Linked DNA regions of Homo sapiens: regions 1 and 3 are each linked to region 2. Evidence: promoter capture Hi-C in human tissues and cell types (Jung and others, 2019). All regions are on one chromosome and are shown on one strand. Each heading gives the region's core, a stretch centred on a gene start or on the middle of the fragment in contact. The rest is flanking DNA. Distances are from core to core; before and after follow the strand shown.

Evidence for each region. The method cuts DNA at HindIII sites, captures the fragments that hold promoters and counts their contacts. A contact is called where the count stands out against the background at its distance.
Region 1: a contact is called between a fragment that was not itself captured here and the fragment with the promoter of SYT6 in region 2, in 2 of the 25 tissues and cell types used here (spleen and thymus).
Region 3: a contact is called between a fragment that was not itself captured here and the fragment with the promoter of SYT6 in region 2, in 3 of the 25 tissues and cell types used here (H1 embryonic stem cells, IMR-90 fibroblasts and psoas muscle).

The regions. Positions count from the first base shown.
Region 1 is chr1:114,056,391-114,059,090 of GRCh38, forward strand. No RefSeq gene overlaps it. Among named protein-coding and RNA genes, the nearest start is that of OLFML3, 78 kb to the left of the region's middle. RefSeq lists an enhancer at 1,764-2,618. The HindIII fragment of the contact is 6,102 bases long and covers 1-2,700 here.
Region 2 is chr1:114,152,619-114,155,318 of GRCh38, forward strand. It overlaps SYT6 (synaptotagmin 6), which reads right to left and starts at 1,251. Exons shown (of 8, transcript NM_001253772.2): 1 at 992-1,251. The coding sequence starts at 1,154. RefSeq lists an enhancer at 2,426-2,700. The HindIII fragment of the contact is 10,069 bases long and covers 1-2,700 here.
Region 3 is chr1:114,247,355-114,250,054 of GRCh38, forward strand. No RefSeq gene overlaps it. Among named protein-coding and RNA genes, the nearest start is that of SYT6, 95 kb to the left of the region's middle. The HindIII fragment of the contact is 3,137 bases long and covers 1-2,700 here.

The DNA.
Region 1 (2,700 bases), core at 54-2,553, 96 kb before region 2:
ACAAAACATCCAAATGAGACCCAAGGAGAAAGCGTGGATTGGGTACCATCCCAGCGGGTAGGAGAAGACTGCCAGGGAAGGCGTGTCTTGGGGGTCAAGTGAAGGAGGTAAGGCTGAGTCGAAGGCCTGGGAAGGCTCTCAGGATAGGAGGACAATGGAAGCTCAGTTTGAGTAAAACAGCAAGTGATTGGGGGATTGAGGAGGTGGCAGCCTTCGATGTGTAGTGTGATGTGAAGTGTGGCCAGAAGTGTGGGCTCTGATTCTAGCTCTGCCACTGACAGTGTGACCTTGGACTTCCACCATCCACCAGCTCCAGGTGCCAGTTCTCCATCTGTAAAGAGAAGGAGGTATTTAGGGCTCTTAGAGTTTTGGGTGTTTCCTCACAGCAACATGGGTAAGAGCAGAGGGACCTCACTGGATGGAACTGGTGCTTGGCAGCTGACCCTGCTATGGGGGTGGATGTGGTCTTTTTACCCCCACAGAACTAGGTATGGATGTCTTTACTGATGTGGCAGGTAGATATTCAGTTCTAAGATTCCTGATGAAATAGCAGGATTTCAACAGATAGTAGAGCTGAGAGGAAGCTGGACTAAGTAACAGCTGGCACCAGAGAGGTGGTTCTGGGGTTAGTCAAGCCCAGATATCTAGCAAGGCTTCATGGTCTGGGCTCCTTTATGTGGGAGGAGGGCTCATTTGTACAAGTAAGGCAGGCCTTTAATCAGTCCTTCCAGGTGGCTACTGTGGCAGCAGTGGTAGCTGATCACCAAAGATGCAAGCTCTCCTTTCACAGTGTAGAGGTATTGTTAGGATGCAGTTGTCTAGTTATATACCATGCTCCTCAATCCACTGTCTTCAGCTGCACCCATAGGACTAGCACTGAGCAAAAGAATGTAAGCAGAAATAATGTGTGCCATTTATAAGCTGAGGAGATGAATTATCAGCTGTGCCTTACTCCACTCTTTTCCCCTTCCAAGACTTAGAGACTGCATGTTGAAAATGATAGCATTACAAGATGGAAGGAGCCTGGATCCCTGAGTCACTGGTTGGAGGAGAGTTGCCCAGAAATATTCTCATTAGACTTTTCATGAGCAAGAAATAAAGTTGTTTTCTGTTAACCCAATGATATTTTGAGTTGTTGTCATGACAGTTAACTTATCCTATCTAATACAGCTATCTTAGACACCTTAAATGAGCCCCAAAGCAGAAGGACAGTTATTTGGAGACATGAAACTTGGAGAACCTAAAGATGAGCTCATTGATCAATCTTAGATAATATTTATTACTAATACATGCCAGACTTTCTTCTTGGTTCTAAGGATACAATGTTAGGATGACAAAGTCCACACTCTTGTGAGACTTGCCTGCCAGTGAAGGGAGACAGATAACAAGCTGACATGCTAAATGCATGATTTGTAGGCTCAAAGTATAACTTATTTTGTTATCCACCGTCTATTTGAAGTATACTCAGTGGTCGTGATCTGTTCCTATACTGGAAATGTGGGTAGATTCCATGATTGTTCTGCCCACTCCTAGGTGATAGACAATCCTTTGGTCACTTTAAGTTGTAAAGACAGCCTCAGTTTAAAAACTGGAATGTCCGATGGAAAACAATGATTAAGTGCTTTTATTTTATCCAAAAGTTGAGTTAGCACCTTTGAATTATGGCCTATAGTTGATGGCATCCTGACTGTAGGAAGGGAAGATAGTTTTTTTTCTCTCTTATTTTATCTTCTCTCCCATCTTCCCTCTTGCTGGCTTGTGGGGAAAAGAAAGAGAGATCAGATTGTTACTGTGTCTGTGTAGAAAGAAGTAGACATGGGAGACTCCATTTTGTTCTGTATTAAGAGAAATTCTTCTGCCTTGAGATGCTGTTAATCTGTAACCTTACCCCCAACCCTGTGCTCTCTGAAACATGTGCTGCGTCCACTCAGGGTTAAATGGATTAAAGGCTGTGCAAGATGTGCTTTGTTAAACAGATGCTTGAAGGCAGCATGCTCTTTTAAGAGTCATCACCACTCCCTAATCTCAAGTACCCAGGGACATAAACACTGCAGAAGGAAGGCCGCAGGGACCTCTGCCTAGGAAAGCCAGGTATTGTCCAAGGTTTCTCCCCACGTGATAGTCTGAAATATGGCCTCGTGGGAAGGGAAAGACCTGACCATCCCCCAGCCTGACATCCGTAAAGGGTCTGTGCTGAGGAGGATTAGTATAAGAGGAAGGAACGCCTCTTTGCAGTTGAGACAAGAGGAAGACATCTGTCTCCTTCCCGTCCCTGGGCAATGGAATGTCTCGGTATAAAACCCGATTGTATGTTCCATCTACTGAGATAGGGGAAAACTGCCTTAGGGCTGGAGGTGGGACAGGCGGGCAGCAATACTGCTCTTTAAGGCATTGAGATGTTTATGTGTATGCATATCTAAAGCACAGCATTTAATTCTTTACCTTGTTTATGATGCAGAGACCTTTGTTCACATGTTTATCTGCTGACCTTCTCTCCACTATTATCCTATGACCCTGCCACATCCCCCTCTCCGAGAAACACCCAAGAATGATCAATAAATACTAACGGAACTCAGAGGCCGGTGGGATCCTCCGTATGCTGAACGCTGGTCCCCTGGGCCCCCTTATTTCTTTCTCTATACTTTGTCTCTGTGTCTTTTTCTTTTCCAAGTCTCTTGTTCCACCTAACAAGAAACACCC
Region 2 (2,700 bases), core at 1-2,500:
ATACCCTGGGCCGGCCGCCACGTCGCCGACCCTCCCGCAGCTCCCGCCGCCAGGGCGCGACACGCCATTCCCCCTGCCGCGACTCCCCGGAGACGCCGCAGCTGCGCGCCAGGGTCCAGCCCGGCGGGGATCGGGCTCGGGACTCACCCGCTCCGGCGAGCTCGACTCAGCTCGGGCTCCCGCCTCGGCTAGGCAGCCGCCTGGGGCTGCGTCCCGCGCAGGGTCAGCGCGGATCGGGCAGGAGGCGCCCTCTTGGCAAAGTCGGCTAGAGGCGCCAGCTCAGTCGCGCACCGGCCCCGAGTCCGAGTCCGAGAGGGACGGAGGGAGCGAGTTATAGGGGCGAGAGGGGGTGGGGGAAGGACGCCGCAACACCCTCATACCCTCCCCCACCCCGCCCCCTGTCCCCCGCCCCCCAGCGGAGACGCGGAAAACCACTCGCAGCCGGAGAGACACCCGGACACAAAGACCTCGTGCCAGCCGCAGACCCAAGTTTCTCCCGGAGAGACTGGGGGTCCGCCCGCGTTCACCGCGAGAACACACAAACGGACGGACAGACCGACGCACGGACCCGGGGACCTCGACACTCGCTAGGAGGCAAGCCCTATTCCTCAGCCGGGCGCCCCTCGTCTCCCGCTCTCTCCATGGACCCCTCTCCTGGCAAATCGCCCGCAGAGCGAGCTTGGAGATGCGAGGGAAACTGAAGCCCCAAGGGTGCCCCGTCCTGGGAGCCTGGCTGTCTGCGGGGTCCCCCGCATTCCGCAGTAGTAATACAGGAGGGCCGGGGGCTTCTACCCCAACCTCCGCTCCCCTTCGGGTCTCTCCTGGCTGTGCAAGCGATGGGCCAGAGGGCTGGACGAGGCTGGCTCCCAATCCAGAATCCCGAGCTGGGGAGTTCTCTCTAGGTTCTGGGGCTCCTGGGACCGGGGCTTTGGGGAAGGGAGATCGCAGGACGGATATCCAGGAAGGGAGGGGGCCCTGGGTCTCCCGTTACCTGCGCCTGCCGCGCTGGGACTCCGCTCTGGGGGCTGCAGCTCGAAGCTCCGACAAGTCTCCACGTCCAGCCCGAGAGGGGGCGGCCGGGCCCGGCACAGCGAGGCGAGGACCGCGAGCGCCTCCTGGCACCGAGGCCCGCCGGCCCCCCACACTCCGCTCATGCCCTAGACACCCAGGCTTGCCGAGCAGCAGCTCGAACCCGCGCCCCGGCCGCACTGGGGCGGGGCACGACGGCCCCAAGAAGACCCTCCCTGCAGCGGCCCCCTGCGGCTCCGCTCTGCTTTTAATCACTTCCCCGCAGGGTCCCCGCCCCTCACGTGGCATCCCGCGGCAGCTGGCGAGTCTGGCGCCTCGCGGCCGCCCCCTCTACACTCAGGGACTGGCCTGAGTCCGGGGGGTGGGGGTTTCGAGGCGGGAAGCCGGGCTGTCCCGAATCTCGGAGGGTGCAAGGCCAGGAAAGAGTCCGGGTTCCCACTCCGCATTCACTGCCTGGTGTGACCTTGGGCGTCTCTGAGCCTCAATTTTCCTCTCCGTAAAGGAGGTGTAATGATTTTAAGTACTTCACGGACTCCCTGGGGATAGAAAGATCGTGTTTGTGAAAACACTGGGTAAACTGCCACATGCCACACGAATGACAGAGAAATAGATAACCCCGTAACAGAAAGAGCGACGGTCAGGCAGGGTCTGGGAGGACCTTGGCCGAGGTTCCTGACGGGAGCAGTTAGACTGGCCCCCGAGTCCCAGCTTCGGAGGTAGAAGACCCCAAGACAGGCGGGCGATGCGAACTGCAAGACTTTCCGAGCTCCGCAATCCTGCGGTCCGCGGTACCCGCATGTTGCTATGGCGACGGGAGGCAGCGGCCGTCTCTCTCCATGGCAACGGGAGGGAAAAGTTTCTGGCAAACAGGAATGGGGGGTCATTTCAAGAGGGCGCAGGGCGCTCAGTTCCGCCGACCCACCTCCTTGCTTCGGTGAAACAGCACCAGAGATCATGTATCTTTCTGCTAAGCATAACAAGAAAGACAGAAAGCTCAACGGGAGGATTGAGGCTAGACTTAAAGTAGAGATCCCCTCAGAAACTGTGGAGTGAGGCCCAGGAACAGATCGGCTGAGAGGCTTCGAGCTGCCTCACTCAGCGCTGGAAGTCTGTGAGCCATGGTCAGGGAGGCCGGGGGACCAGCGCCCTGCAGGGGCCTATCTCGGGAGTCTCTTGATCTACACCTGTCGGCGGTGGGGCCCCTTCTGTGTGGGGCTCGCCTGAAGCCCCAGACTCAGGTCCATTTGCTCTCCCGGAGCTGGGAAGGAAGCTTTAGCTGCAGCCCCTGGAGGCTGCTGGGTTGGTGTATGCCCGAGTGGCTGGCGAGGGAGAAAGGTCTTGCCTCTTAATTAACACGCTTATTGGAAGTGACTCGGGCAGTGACTCACGTTCCGGAGGGAGGAGATTCGGAGCCTTAGCTCCTGGCGGTCTCCACTGCGCGCCATCTGTGCCAACCGGCCCTTGGACTTGCGATCCCCTAGCAGCTGGTGCCTGGGGCACCAAGGGCTAAGGCAAGGCCTGTGAGGACCCTGGCCCAGCCAGGCGGCTTTTCCACCGTGAGGCGCCCCCTGGCTCTGTCCACGGTGCTGAAGACCCAGTTGGTGCTACCATCGCGTGGGCATAAGTTTAGGGGACGAGGGAGAGGCAATTGTTGAAGGTTCGCAGCTTCCA
Region 3 (2,700 bases), core at 120-2,619, 95 kb after region 2:
TTAGTTCAACCATTGTGGAAGACAATGTGGCGATTCCTCAAGGATCTAGAACCAGAAATACCATTTGACCCAGCAATCCCATTACTGGGTTTATACCCAAAGGATTATAAATCATTTTACTATAAAGACACATGCACACATATGTTTATTGCAGCACTATTCACAATAGCAAAGACTTGGAACCAACCCAAATGCCCATTAATGATAGACTGGATAAAGAAAATGTGGCGTATATACACCATGGAATACCATGCAGCCATAAAAAGAGGATGAGTTCATGTCTTGCAGGAACATGGATGAAGCTGGAAACCATCATTCTCAGCAAACTAACACAGGAACAGAAAACCAAACACTGCATGTTCTCACTCATAAGTGAGAGTTGAACAATGAGAACATGGACACAGGGAGGGGAACATCACACACGGGGGCCTGTTAGGGGATGGGGGGGCTAGGGGAGGGATAGCATTAGGAGAAATACTTAATGTAGATGATGGGTTGATGGGTGCAGAAAACCATCATGGCACGTGTATACCTATGTAATACGTTCTGCAAACATATCTGCACGTTCTGCACATGTATCCCAGGCTCAAGCCTGTAATCCCAGCACTTTGGGAGGCCGAGGCAGGTGGATCACGAGGTCAGGAGAGGAAAACCATCCTGGCTAACACGGTGAAACCCCGTCTCTATTAAAAATACAAAAAAATTATCCAGGCGTGGTGGCGGGTGCCTATAGTCCCAGCTACTCAGGAGGCTGAGGCAGGAGAATGGCGTGAACCCGGGAGGAGGAGCTTGCAGTGAGCCAAGATCATGCCACTGCACTCCAGCCTGGGCGACGGGGCAAGACTGTCTCAAAAAAAAAAAAAGTATAATTTAATAAAACGAAAAAAATGAAACTCTATCAGTGGCAACAGCTATAGACTGAATTAACCACCTAAGACCATTTCTTCTTCCCTCCTTCTTTCCTTCTTCCCCAGACTAACTCCACCCCCAATACCAGCCTCTCTGCAATGACCCCCTGCCCACACAATGAGACCTCCCACACAAGCAGCAGGGCTGTGCTTGGATGAGAAATCTCTCATTTGAGTGACTTAAGGAAATGTCTCTTACTCTTCCAGGGCAGGTCCTTCAAAGTTGCCACTTAGTTCAACTGAAGCCAGAGAGGTGGCCAGAAGATGAGATGCCAGCACTCTCCCTACAAAGTATCCTGGGTCCCGTGGCCTCTCAGTTTGGGGACATAAAACAAGGTCATGATTATGTTGATATCCCAATTGCAATGACTCTGAGCAAGCCCTCCCTTCCCCAACCAGAACTGAGCCCCTCAAGGGGCCCCTAGTAAATTCTGGGAACTGCCCCAGGAAAGCTTCACGTTGGGCACAGGCCAGGCTTCCAGCAGCACCAACCACAGGGGGCTGCCCTGAGGTGCCTCTTCCTCTGGCTTCCACTCACCCGTTAAGCAGCTTGAAAACGCCTTCAAAGGCCACCAATCCTGAGTTCTGTACGGAGGGAGGAGAATGGCCTTTCCCTACTCCGAGGCCGCACTTTGTCACCTGGGTCCTAAAGCATCCCAGCTTGTGCCCAGAATCTCACCAAGTCTGCCATGAAAATAATTCCATCCAATTCTGATCCTTATCCCTGTAGAGATGAAACCCAGGCCAAGGACAGACAGTGGAGAAGAGATCCATGAAACCCCTTCTTTCTTCTTCTCCCAATTACAAAGCTTAAGTGTCGTGCATATAAATAGAGACAGAGGAAGGGGACAAGAACACTTCCAATAACCGGGTTGCAGTTCAGCCAAAATTGCCCCTGAGGCACATAAATGAAAACCAGTCCAGTTAGATAAATCAAGGACATCTGCCTTCTCCCTGTGGCTCTAAATCAATGGCAGGTATATACCAAGAAGAGCACAGAGTCAGCAATGCTGCAGTCTGAATGGCGGGGAGGGGAGAGTGGAGAGGACGAAGCCACAAAGCTTTCTTCTTTATAAGAAAGTATTTATTTATAATACAAACATTTTGCCTCTCCTGGAGAGCATCACCTTTCTTCTTTTCGTTCCTTTTACCTGCTTGAAAGCACAGTTCATTGATTCAGGCTTTTCGCTGGGTCAGCCCACTTTCAACAGACTCTAAGGAAGAGTAGTTAACTCCTGCTCTGAGACCCTCAGGGCAACTGGGCATAATAGAATCTCTCTGAGACTCCTGCAGCCCTTGGCGAAGAGTCTATTCTAGGTATCCAGTTCACATTTTCTCTCAAACTAGTACTAAGTTGAAAAAATAGCATCATAGAGTCTGCCACTACCTGGAGTCAGGGCTTGGCTGTCGATTCAACACAACTACATCTCATCGGATGAAAAGTCAATTTCAATAATAAGATATCTGGGAAGGCTTCAGAAGCTAATTTTCCCATCCTTGGATAATCTGGTACTGCTGACTGACTGTTCCGGGGCGTAACCTGCCAGCCGGTGCCTTCACCAAACACAGAGCACTAGCACCCTGCCCTGGCACCCCAGCCCCGGCCCCTTTCCAACTGAGCTGCCGCACACGACTTGGGGAGCCATCTCTGGCTGCCATTCAGGGGAAGACAGATGGCTGAGAAAAGATTTTCTAGAGTTTCCTGACCAGATTTCTCTCCTATGTATCATGAAGCAAACCGTGGCTTTAAGATTCATCCCTGGAGCAGCAGGCAGCCACCGTCTCTGAGTCG